Regions from separate parts of the Homo sapiens genome. Here region 2 is linked to region 1. Evidence: promoter capture Hi-C in 16 types of primary human blood cells and fetal thymus (Javierre and others, 2016). All regions are on one chromosome and are shown on one strand. Each heading gives the region's core, a stretch centred on a gene start or on the middle of the fragment in contact. The rest is flanking DNA. Distances are from core to core; before and after follow the strand shown.

Region 1 (6,545 bases), core at 1,840-4,339:
ATTTAGAATGAAATCCAACCCTCTTACCCTTTTTGTGTGTTTGTGCGTGTGCTATTTCCCACTACAGTGTAAATCTAGATAACTGCCAGCACATACTAGACACACTGTAAATGTTTGCTGAATACATGAATAGCCCAAATATAAAGAATATAGAAATGCTTATTTTTGCCAGCAAGATTTCATCTCTGGCTTAATTTTTTCTTAATTGAGATATAATTCAGATTCCATACAATTCAGTCTTTTACAATTCAGGGCTTTTTAGTATGTTTACAAAGTTGTGCAACCTTGTAAATATGGTAAATCACCACTCTTTATGTTAAACTACCACTATTTTAATTTCTCTGGCTTAACTTTAATACCAGTTCATCCTTCCTCTCTACCTTGTGGTTCTAATAGGAGCTGCCAATCATAATACCCCATATTCATCAACCCTAGGCAGGGCCCAGGGCCTAGGCGAGGTCACATTCCCCCAGCACTTTCCAACAGAAACTAAGAAAGACCTTCCTTCTCGGGTGGGGAAGCTGGGAGGAATGAGTACTGAGCCAGAGTGCCCAGATCCCTTGCCATGTGGAAGCAGTTGGTCCATGATAGCTAAGAATAAATCTGACACACAGAGAGAAAACACTGATTCTGATTGTCCCCAAGGCCAGCCATCCCATTCTACTTCACACAGTTTGGTTACATTAGCCAACAATCCTCCCCTAGTGGAGTTCCAATGGCTTTCTGTAACTTGAAACTTAAGGTATTCCAATCAATAAAGTCCTTGTCCTGCTCACACATCCTTCAACACATGCTTATTAAGTGTTTACTGTGTGCACGGCACTGGCCTTGGAGAGTAAAATCTAGCAGGGCCACAACAAGTGTGGTAAATGCAATGAGAGGGAAATGTGCAGAGAAAGCATCTCACCCACAGTCAGGGCAGAAATGACATCTAAGCTAGGACCTAACTTTAGAAAGGAGTAAGTATAGGAAGAGAAGTACACAAGATGCCATGGGAATCAGAAGCAACCAGCATCCACAGGAGAGGTAAGGGAAGCTATAGGAACCATGTGATGTTCGAATTGAGCCTTAAAGGATGGATAAGATGTAGATATTTAGAGAAAGGGCATAAGAGCGTCTCAAGTAGAAGAAAAATTGAGTAAAGGCCAGATACAGGAAACAGTGTGAAATTAACAGGAATCTAGGATACATGGAGGGAAGAGGTAGGAATTAGGCTGCAAAGGCAGATTGGGAGCACTCAGCAAGACAAAGCTCTTCGGGTTTAGGGCAGGGAAGCAGCATGTTCAGCTCTGCGCTGTAACAGCCAGGAGAATGCAAGATAGAGAAGATGGGCAAGATGGGGTCAGGGAAACCAGTGTGGTGCCTATTGCAATAGTCCAGAGAACAAGATGATTTAAACCAGCAGAGTGGCCAGGGAAGTAGATAAGAATATATGTGAGCATAACTGAAGAGGTAGAAATAAGATTTAATAAAATAATAAAATAAATAAATAGTAAAATAAAATAAGCTTTAATTAGACGTGGTGCGAGTGGAGGAGAAAGAGGGACTAAACATGCCAATGATGACAATGATGATGATGGTGATGATGATGACGGTGATGGCCTTAAACTGGGCTAAGCCTTTTATGCGCATTATGTCATTTAATCTTCACAACCCTATGAAGTAGGTCCCATTCTTATCCCCACGTTAGATTCTAGAAAACTGAGGAACAGAGAGATTAAGTAACTCAAACAAGGAGATCTTGGATGACACTAAAAAATAAGTAATCCAAGTAGAAAAGGACTTGGGAAGGAGAAAGAGGTCACTTTTGCACATACTGTGTTGAAGTTGCCTATTTGCATAAAGCTGAGCCCCCAACTTCAGTTTGACTGTATCCCTATGAAACAGGAATAGTCTTACCTACATTTTCTTTCTTTCTTTCTTTCTTTTTTTTTTTTTTTTTTTTTTTTTTTTGAAACAGAGTCTGGCTCTGTCTCCCAGGCTGGAGTGCAGTGGTGCGATTTCGGCTCACTACAACCTCTACCTTCCAGGCTGAAGCCATTCTCCCATCTCAGCCTCCTGAGTAGCTGGGACTACAGGCGTGCACCACCAGCTATTTTTTTGTGTTTTTTGTAGAGACGAGGGGCAGGAGGAAGCGATTTGTGTTTTTTGTAGAGACGGGCGGCGGGGAGGGGTAGAAGACGGTGCCGGGGTTGGGAGGGTGTCTCGCTTTTTTGCCCAAGCTGGCCTGGAACTCTTGAGCTCAAGCTATCCACCCACCTCGGCCTCCCAGAGTGCTAGGATTACAGACATGAGCCACCATGCCGGCCATACCTACATTTTCTTAATGAGTACACAACAAGTTGCAAAATCCCAAGCTTTCTTAAATCAGGATAGATTATGTTGATTGCTCCCCCATCTACCATGGCTGTCACTCTGCGACAAAAGGAAATTAGATTCATCTGATAAGCTTTGTTTTTCACAAAGTAATGTGGGATGATTACCCAGTGCCCTGTGGTCTTCTAGAAGTTTGCAAATTGATTTTTTGATTATTTGTTCCAGTGATTTTCCAAGTAGTCAGTGTTTTTCCAAGTTATTCAGCTTTACAGTGTGGGTGAGTTAAAATTCATATTTGCTTTCATATTAATATATGAAGTGTTAATGTAATTATTTAGGATATTTTTGCATGCGGCATCAGATATACTCTGAGGGAACATACATATGAATCTGCATGACTATAAATACACTTGTTGAGGGGCACAAAGCAATTTTCATGTGGAATCCATCAGAGTTTATGACTATATGCAAAAATGAAAGCATACAGGAACACATGGTTAGTTCAAATACCCCAAACAGGTTAAGCTCATCACTTTCTAGAAATGATTATATATGATGAATTTTTTTAAAAAAAAACTTCACGTAGAAAAATTACTACTATGTTTATGCAGCTATGCTGTGAACACTGACCAAAAATACAAGAGAATATTTTTTTGGCCAGGCACGGTGGCTCACGCCTGTAATCTCAGCACTTTGGGAGGCTGAGGCAGGCGGATCACTTGGGGTCAGGAATTCAAGATCAGCCTGGCCAACATGGTGAAATCCCATCTCTACTAAAAACATAAAACTTAGCTGGGTGCGGTGGCGCACACCTAAAATCCCAGCTAGTCAGGAGGCTGAGACCCGAGAATCGTTCCAACCCAGGAGTCAGAAATTGCAGTGAGCTGAGATCGCGCCACTGCACTCCAGTCTGGGTGACAGAGGGAGACCTTATCTCAAAATAAATAAATAAATAAATAAATAAATAAATAAATAAATAAATAAAAATAATTGAATCTTCTCTGCACTCAATCCCCCTAAGCCCCGCTCCTTGACGCCAGGATTTGGAGAGAGTGGTGTCTGGCTAGAGCACCAGACAGGAATTCAATCTTTTGTGGATACAATCTAAAGTCCAATACTAGGGAATCAGAGAAATAAAATCTCAGAATAGATGTTTCCCGGGTAAAACGAGGGTCTAAGTTAAACGACTGCTAAGGGCCTTTCCAGCTCAAATAGTCTATGAATCTAAAGACTATGAGGATGATGAATGGAAGTTATGGCAAAATGTTTTACAAAAAGGGAAAGCCATAAAAATGCCAAATATAACTGAAGTAACCATCTCCCCACAAAGTGAAACCCTTTCATATCATTAAGTACCTGTCTTCAGAAATATCTACTATGCTCTGAGTCCACCAAATATTACAGCCATCTCAAGAAAGCTTCTGTCAAATCCATGAGGTCAAAACTCTATTTTATGAAAATGAATGATTAATAGGATGAGTAGACATGACAGCCTTCATATAAATGGAATTCACCTGCCATCTGAAAGCAGTTTTGTCTTGCTTTTTGGAGACAGGATCTCACTAGCCCAGAATGGAGTGCAGCAGCAATCATAGCTCACTGCAGCCTCGAACTCCTGGCCTCAAGCGATCCTCCCACCTCAGCCTCTTGAGCAGCTAGGACTACAGGCACGCACCACTGCCTGGCAAATTTTTTTTTTTTTTTTATTTTTTTATTTTTGAGACGGTGTCTCCTTACGCTGTGCAGGCTGGTCTTGGTCTCCAATTCCTGCTCGAGTGATACTCCCACCTCGGCCTCACAAAGTGTTGGGATTATAGCCATGAGCCACTGCCCCTGGCCTAAAAACAAGTTTAAAACAAACAAAAACTACACAGCTTCTGCCTGGCAGCCCCCGGCATCAGCTATCCTCCCTGGCCTTGCCCCTTAGGCTCAGGAGCTGTGAGAGCTGCATTACCCCTTCTTGTTTCCCTAAACCCTAAGAAAAACTTAAATAATCCTTGATTAAGCACTCTGCTAAGAATATATCACGAGTTTCCTACAGGGCCGCGATTGATACAGGGATAATAATATCATCTGAGAGTAAAATAATCTAAAATAATAATCAAAAAATAAAAATAGGCCCGGTGCGGTGGCTCACGCCTGTAATCCCAGCACTTTGGGAAGCCGAGGTGGGTGGATCACCTGAGGTCAGGAGTTCTAGACCAGCCTGACCAACATGGGGAAACCCCATCTCTATTAAAAATACAAGATTAGCTGGGCATGGTGGTGGGCCCCTGTAACCCCAGCTACTCGGGAGGCTGAGGCAGCAGACTCGCCGGAATCCGGGAGGCAGAGGTTGCAGTGAGCCGAGATCGTGCCATTGCACTCCAGCCTGGGGGACAAGAGCGAGATCATGCCTGTAATCCCAGCACTTTGGGAGGCCAAGGCAGGGGGATCACGAGGTCAGGAGATCGAGACCATCCTGGCTAACACGGTGAAACCCCGTCTCTACTAAAAAATACAAGAAATGAGCCGGGCGTGGTGGCGGGCGCCTGTAGTCCCAGCTACTCGGGAGGCTGAGGCAGGAGAATGGCGTGAACCCGGGAGGCGGAGCTTGCAGTGAGCCGAGATCGCGCCACTGCACTGCAGCCCGTGCGACATAACTAGACTCCGTCTCAAAAAACAAACAAAAAAAATTATAGTCTTTATTTTAGTCTTTAAATATAGTCTTCATTTTAGATAATCTCATCTAATAACAAAGGGATGCATTTATTTGCATAACAATTGGAAACTGTCACAAGTCAATACTAAGACTTCTAATTCTAATCTAGCATATCACAAATTCTTAAAGTTTTTTTAAAACAATGTGTCAAATAAATATATCAAGAGTAAAATGTTTTGGTTTCGTTTTGTTTTGTTTTGTTTTGCCATCGGCTGGAGCCTCAGTATTTGTTATAACCTAATTTTCTTCCCCGCCTTCCAAACTGGTTTAGTTAACTCTCTGCATCACAAACACAACAAATTGTACATTGAACTACCCTGCCTTTAATATATGTATTTTCTAGAAATCTTGTTGTCCTAGAATGACTTTAGGTAACTTAAAAGCCCTGCAATGCCTCCCTCCCTCTCCCAGCATCCTCCTAACAACAACAAAAAAACCCTATAATGTTCTAAAATTGCATCTTTCCTTTTTCTTTCAAAAAAGAGCACTCTTTTGGTCATTTGCTCATCTTCACAGTACAAGGAGAAAATACTGGAGAAAAACCAGCGGGTGTATTTCGGCATGCGACCGCTTGGTTCCCCCGCTTTCCTTCACCTCTGACCTAATCTCTCACTTCAAAAACTGACTTCAAGCTGTTGCCAGATACGTCCCTTCCGCCGCCTGCCGCAGGTGGCTAGGGTCTGAGCACACTTGAACCTCACACCCGCCCCAGGGGTAGCTCCTTGGTTCCCTTCAGCCCCGATGTGTCCCTCGTGCTTTGAAATGGAATTACAGTTTTGGTTAAAAACATGCCTTTTCCGAGTTAGGAAGAATCTAAATCGACTGAACGCCAGTCTAAAATTTCGGCGTTCCCACACCGGGAGTCGAACCCGGGCCGCCTGGGTGAAAACCAGGAATCCTAACCGCTAGACCATGTGGGAGACGGCAATAGCGACTCCAAGCCTAGACAAATTGAGTCTTCTCGGTCGGCTTCCGCCCACTCCATCGCGTTCATCCGTAGGCGTCAAACCTGCTCCTGCGCCTGCGCGGAGTCTGCAGCGGTTTAAACCGTTCAGGTTCGCATTCTACTGTTTCTCTCCTTGCAGGGGCCCTTGAATCTTTCTTCAATCTACTCTCGCGTCTTTCGTGATCTCATCCAGTCTCCTGGTGCTAGGTACCATGTCGACACCAATGTAGACACTAGATTGGATGAGTCATTGTTCACAATTCCTCACAAAACTCCTGCAAAGTCCAAAAGAACTGGGGTTTGAATGTTAGAGGCTGGTGAAGAAGTGAGGACCACGGGGCGTCATAACACCGCGCAGTGGAGGCCACGCTGCACTGGCCGGTGTCCGCCGACAGGGTGTGTGCCACAGACGCGCAGTGCCTTGCCCGAATCTGTCCCTCCCCTCAGCGCTGGTCCAGGCTGGCCACAGGCACCACCCCGTCCCTGAAAGTGGATCTTTTCCTCTGAAAAAACAGGAATGAGAACTGCCCGGAAGCCTGGAACATTCCAGGTTCTGATGACTCAGCGGCTGAAGGCAGGATT
Region 2 (6,257 bases), core at 1,777-4,276, 8.1 Mb before region 1:
CTCAATACTGTAAATTCTATACATCCATAACTTCAAGGTGACTTGACTTCTTATGAAAATCACTATCAGTTTTTATGAATTCACCAACAACAGTGTCCCAAATTCAAAATAAGAATAAATGCAGCCAGACGAGGTGGCTCACGCCTGTAATCCCAGCACTTTGGGAGGCTGAAGTGGGCAGATCGCTTGAGGTCAGGAGTTCGAGACCAGCCTGGCCAACACGGTGAAACCCCGTCTCTACTAAAAATTCAAAAATTAGCCGGGCGTGGTGGCGGGTGCCTGTAATCCCAGCTACTCAGGAGGCTGAGGCAGGAGAATCACTTGAACCCAGGAGGCAGAGGTTGCAGTCAGCCAAGACCATGTCACTGCATTCCAGCCTGGGCAACAAGAGTGAAACTCTGTCTCCAAAAAAAAAAAAAAAAAGAATAAATGCTTGACTATTCACAATAGCAAAGACATGGAAGCAACCTAAATGCCCATCAATGGTAGACTAAATAAAGAAAATATGATACATATACACCATGAAATACTATGCAGCCACAAAAAGGAATGATACCATGTCCTTCACAGCGACATGGATGGAGTTGGAAGCCATTAACCTCAGCAAACTAACACAGAAACAGAAAACCAAACGCCACATCTTCTCACTGATAAGTGAGAGCTGAACGATAAAAACACATGGACACAATGGGGAACAACACACACTGGGGCCTGTTAAAGGTGGGTGTGGGGGAGGGAGAGCATCAGGAAGAATAGCTGATGAATGCTGGGCTTAATACCTAGGTGATGGGATGATCTGTGCAGTGAACTACTATGGCACGTGTTTATCTATCTACCAAACCTGCACATCCTGCACATGTATCCCTGAGCTTAAAATAAAAGTCGAAGAAAAAAAGTAACATTATTTATGAATAAAGTTATATTTTTTCATTTAAAAAAAGGAATAAATGCTTGGTTTCTGTCCAATTCAGTAAAGAAGTAAAGTGTACTTTTTGTTCTTTTTCTTTTTTTTGATGATGGCAAGGACATAAAGTTTTGACATGAATGTTGATAGACATTTTTGTTTATATTGAGAAAAAACAAAAGTGAAACAATGAAGATGTATATAAGGTCTTCACTTGTTCAATGATGTGATGTAAGCAGTTTCTTTGCTGAATTGCATGATAGTTTTCAAATACTGAAAGAATATTTTCTCAGTTGGGGGGGTTGGATATTCACAATGTGAGAGCTGCAGATAGAATACATTTTCAGTTTAATCTTTTTCTTTTTCTTTTTTTCTTTTTTGATGGAGTCTCACTCTGTTGCCCAGGCTGGAGTGCAGTGGCACAGTCTTGGCTTACTGCAATCTCTTCCTCCTGGGTTCGAGCGATTCTCATGCCTCAGCCTCCTGAGTAGCTGGGATTATAGGTGTGGACCACCACACCTGGCTGATTTTTGTATTTTTAGTAGAGACGGGGTTTCATCATGTTGGTCAGGCTGGTCTCGAACTCGTGACCTCGTGATCCACCTGCCTGAGCCTCCCAAAGCGCTGGGATTACAGGTGGGAGCCACTGAGCCTGGCCTTAAATTTAATCTTCATTAACATTTTCACTGTCACTTTCTTAAGTGCAGAGACAATCAGCAATAAGTGTAAACCTGCTTCGTAGCATTTGATCATTTCCCTGGTGTAAATACTCCAAAAGTGGCTGATTTCAAGCAATCAACATGACATACTGAAGGCAGAGTTGGGAAAATGTGCAGTAACACACCACTAAATAATATTTCCGCATACAGATACAATAGACATAAATAACCTTAAAAGCACAGATAATGATAAAACATAATAAAATAATTAGAAAATGAAGAGTTTTGAGATTTGTACCCTTTGTTTTTAATATAATCTTATTGTAAGTTTATGTAGTAAGACTTTTAATAATAGCAGTGTTTAATTTTTCTGCTAATTATATTCCTGAAATTTTAGCAACCAGTTACCATCAGTTGGCGCTAGCACACCACCGACTGCAGGCTTTACTGATGAGGAAACTGAGGCTCGGAGAGGCTGTCACGAACTTGCTGTAGTCACACAGGAAGTACTACCTAGGTTGCTCTAATTCCAAACCTTCTCCCTTCCATATGCCTCTCTTTAAAACATAACTGATCTACCTATATGTCAGCACCCAAACATCTTAGTGTGAATGGATTTATAGTTTGTTGAATAAAGTCATTGCTTTCCGGTAGGTGGGATGGGAAATCTGACTAGGCGAAAGAATAGGATGAAGGGAAAAAGAACATCTACTTAACAGTTCAGGATACGGCAGGATATTTTCTCTCCTGGGATTTGGGCAAGCCAAGATTTAACAACCAGCAATTGCCCAGCAACTGATAGAACTGGTAGAACATTCATTGTTTTTTTAAACGTTTGCCATTCAGTATTCCTTTTCACACATTTTCACTGTGTTAAACGAAAACGTTAAGACTTATCTCAGCAGCCACAGCAAAGAGCAAGTACTAACAATCAAGTGAGTTTCCAGGAGAAAAAAAACAAAGTTATCCCTCAATGCAAATACAACTCGGCCAAAGGTGTGGCCCATCCCTCTCCGCTCCACTATTTTCAAATAAGCCACCTCTGCCTTCATGGACTGCGAGCTAGTGACTCTAGGCTGTGACACCACTGCATCCCAGCTTCAAATCTCCCCTTGCAGGCAGTTTGTGGGGGAAATAATAAAATTAGCATCCTAACACTACAAGTCGTGAGACCGCTCAGGAACAATCCTAATTTGCATACTGGAACTCCTGTAGAAGATACTTTGAACCGCTTTAGATACAATAGGATCAGGTAAAACGGCGCTGCCTTGCCAGCCACTGCAGGTTTTCACCTGACACAGCCCCCAGACCCTGTCTACGAATCCCCCAGCTGGCCGAAGGGGCCGCGGCCGCACATGCGCAGTCAGTCCCGTTGGTTGTGCGCTCAGCCCCGCCCCCAGAGGCGCCGCGCTCCCTGACAGCCCGCGGGCGTACACACGCTGACGCGCAGGCTGCGGTCGCGCAGGCGCAGTCGGGGCGCCTTCCCGGTATAGGCGCCTTTTACCCCAGCGTGTCCTGAGTCTTTGGTTCGCGAAGTGCCGTTAGGCCAAGCAGGTGCTAAAAGCCCGGGGTCGTGGACCCCGGCCAGGTCTTAGCAGCATGGAGGCGCAGGGTGTAGCGGAGGGCGCGGGGCCGGGCGCCGCCAGCGGCGTGCCCCACCCCGCGGCCCTAGCCCCGGCTGCGGCTCCCACCTTGGCGCCAGCCTCGGTGGCGGCCGCGGCCTCTCAATTCACCCTGCTAGTGATGCAACCCTGTGCTGGGCAGGACGAGGCTGCGGCCCCCGGGGGCAGCGTTGGGGCGGGCAAGCCCGTTAGGTACCTGTGCGAAGGGGCCGGGGATGGCGAAGAGGAGGCTGGGGAGGACGAGGCGGACCTGTTAGACACTTCGGACCCTCCGGGGGGAGGCGAGAGCGCGGCTAGTTTGGAGGATCTAGAGGACGAGGAGACTCACTCGGGGGGCGAGGGCAGCAGCGGGGGCGCCCGGAGGCGGGGCAGCGGTGGGGGCAGCATGAGCAAGACCTGCACCTACGAAGGCTGCAGCGAGACCACGAGCCAGGTGGCCAAGCAGCGCAAACCGTGGATGTGCAAGAAACACCGCAACAAGATGTACAAGGACAAGTATAAAAAGAAGAAGAGCGACCAGGCCCTGAACTGCGGTGGGACTGCCTCGACTGGCAGCGCGGGAAACGTCAAACTCGAGGTATCAGACTTAGCTGAGGCCTGGGGATGGGAGGTGGAAGAAGAAACCCGATCTTAACGCAAACCGCATCTGCAGGGCCTGCCTCCCCACTTCCAAATGGGCCGGTTTGCAGTGACTGGGTTAGTGGTTGAGAATTAGAGTGTTTGCCCTAAATTAAAGTTTATACCAACATGTGCAAAGCAATAACAGTTCTGTTGAACTCATGATAGGTGCAGAAATTTCAGTAAAAATAATGTGACATCGGCAGAGCTGTCATAGATCTGGGATATGGCTGGAAGGACATAGAGTAAATGATCGGTCTGGTTCATCGCTAAAGGAGACTTAGGAACCTAGATGAAGTTGGTACTTCTGAGAAAGTCATCTCTTTCTGTTTTCACTACTCTATTCTCAGTATCCAGTTCTCAGTACCCAGTTCTCAGTACCTCTATTTGTAATACTCCTGTATTTAGTACTTTGTTTTTAGTGTCCTGTTCTGTTAACCCTCTTCCTAGTACCGTATTTTTAGTACTGCTATACTCAGTTGCCTGTCTGTAGTACCCCTGTACGTAGTACTCTTTTCTTACAACTCTGTTCCCAGTACCCCTATGTTTAGTCCCTTGTTCTCATGTTCTCACTACCCCAATACTTAATATACTTTGTTCTCAGTATCCTTGTTGTTAGTACCCTGTTCTCACTACCCCTTTTCTTAGTACCCCTGAGGGGGGAAAAAAAGGATGATAATGGGGTATAAGTCTCAAAAAACTTTTGGATTGTTTGATTTGAACTGAGTCAAAGGTAAAACCAGTGTTCTGGAGTTCGACTTCTGGGTGCAAATCCCTGTTGCATCATTTACTGGCCTTGTGGCTTGAATAGGTTATTAAACTCTGTAAAATGGGCATTAAAATCGTGTGTCATTCATAGTGTTGCTGTGAATATGTGAGCCATTCCATATTGAGGGTTCACACAGTGTCCAGCAACTGGCTAAAGTTTGCAAACCTTACCCATTATTATTGTCATTGTTAGTGGTATACTTTGAGGCTGTCACAAATAAGCAGATATTTCTTCTTGTGAGAGCTATATAATCCCTTAGTGTAGAGAAAAATTTAATTTTGTTACAAGTGATCCAAGCCAGGTATGGTGGCAAGTGCCTGTATACCCAGCTGTACTTGGGAGGGTGAAGTGGGAAGATTGCTTGAGACCAGGGGTTCGAGGCTGCCGTGAGCCTTGTTTGCATCACTGCATTCCAGCCTGGATGACATAGCAAGACCCTGTCTCCTTAAAAAAAAAAAAAAAAAAAAAAAAAAAATTTTTTTTAACTGCAAGCTGTCTTAGGGTCCTAGGATGTATTCTAAGTCTTTAAATTTCTTAGTTTCAGGCTGAACTTGAAGTGCTCCATCACTAAAATATTAGACCTTGTAATTGTTTACAAATGTAATGTTCTAGGCCAGGCTCAGTGGCTAATACCTGTAAGCCCAGAACTTGGGGAGGCCTAGGAGGGAGGATCGCTTGAGCCCGGAAGTTTGAGACCAGCCTGGGTAACATAGGGAGACCCCATCTCAACAAAAAAATTTTAAAAATTAGCCAGGTATGTTGGCACATGCCTGTGGTCCTAGCTACTCGGGAGGCTGAGGTGGAAGGATCATTGAGCCCAGGAGATTGAGGCTGCAGTGAGCCATGGTTGTGCTACTTCACTCCAGCCTGGGTGACAGAGCAAGACTTTGTCTCAAAAACAAAAAGTATAATATTCTAAATATTTCTAAAATTTGCAGTTGCCAGTGTGTCATACTTAATTCACACTGGTTAGGACTGAGTGACTTCTCTTTCCCTTAAGTTTTACTCTTTTGGAGTAAGAGGACTTCTTTGAGGGTCTGGTGACTTAATGAAGACTCTTCCTAGAAAAATCCACTATGTAACTTTAATTTTGCATACTAATTAATGGGCTCAGGACTTCTGTAATCTTAGTTTAAAAACCCCCTCAATCCATATTCTTATAGTATGTTTTACCAAATCTCTGATTACGGGGATTTAGGGAAATAAGCATCTGGAAAAGAATGAAAGTTAGTAAAGGTGATCAAGTTTCTTCCTCAGTATGTTCCACAGGTGCCCATTCACTTCAGAATTCTTTAGAGAGGGAGAAAAATAATACTTTTTTTCTTTCTTTTTTTTTTTTGAGACAGAGTCTTACTCTGTGTCGCTCAGGCTGGAGTGCAGTGGTGCGATCTCGGCCCACTACAACCTCCACCTCCTGGGTTCAAGCAGTTCTTGTGCCTCAGCCTCCTGAGTAGCTGGGATTACAGGCATGCACCACCACGCCCGGCTAATTTTTGTATTTTTAGTAGAGACGCGGTTTTGCCATGTTGGCCAGTCTGGTCTCGAACTCCTGATCCTCCCACCTCAGCCTCCTGAAGTGCTGGGATTACGGGTGAGACCCACCACGCCGGCCTAATAATACTTATTTTCAAGAAAGAAGTAGTTAACCTATGGCTGCTTACTTTTTTTTTTTTAAACTACCTAAC

The links. Contacts are between HindIII fragments. The CHiCAGO score rates a contact against its expected background, and 5 or more counts as called.
Region 2: the fragment with the promoter of RFXAP here is called in contact with a fragment that was not itself captured in region 1 in 1 of 17 cell types (total CD4 T cells); the score reaches 6.9 in total CD4 T cells.

The regions. Positions count from the first base shown.
Region 1 is chr13:44,912,062-44,918,606 of GRCh38, forward strand. All of the region lies in intron 1 of LOC107984619 (a long non-coding RNA gene), which reads right to left. It overlaps TRE-TTC2-1 (tRNA-Glu (anticodon TTC) 2-1), which reads right to left and starts at 5,937; the gene lies at 5,866-5,937. RefSeq lists an enhancer at 6,443-6,545. The HindIII fragment of the contact is 1,285 bases long and covers 2,448-3,732 here.
Region 2 is chr13:36,816,196-36,822,452 of GRCh38, forward strand. RFXAP (regulatory factor X associated protein) reads left to right here and starts at 3,027. Exons shown (of 3, transcript NM_000538.4): 1 at 3,027-3,762. The coding sequence starts at 3,163. It overlaps LOC124903158 (a long non-coding RNA gene), which reads right to left and starts at 2,876. Exons shown (of 2, transcript XR_007063760.1): 1 at 1,972-2,876. RefSeq lists silencers at 2,945-3,314, 5,891-6,105 and enhancers at 3,545-3,594, 3,605-3,834. The HindIII fragment of the contact is 8,641 bases long and covers 1-6,257 here.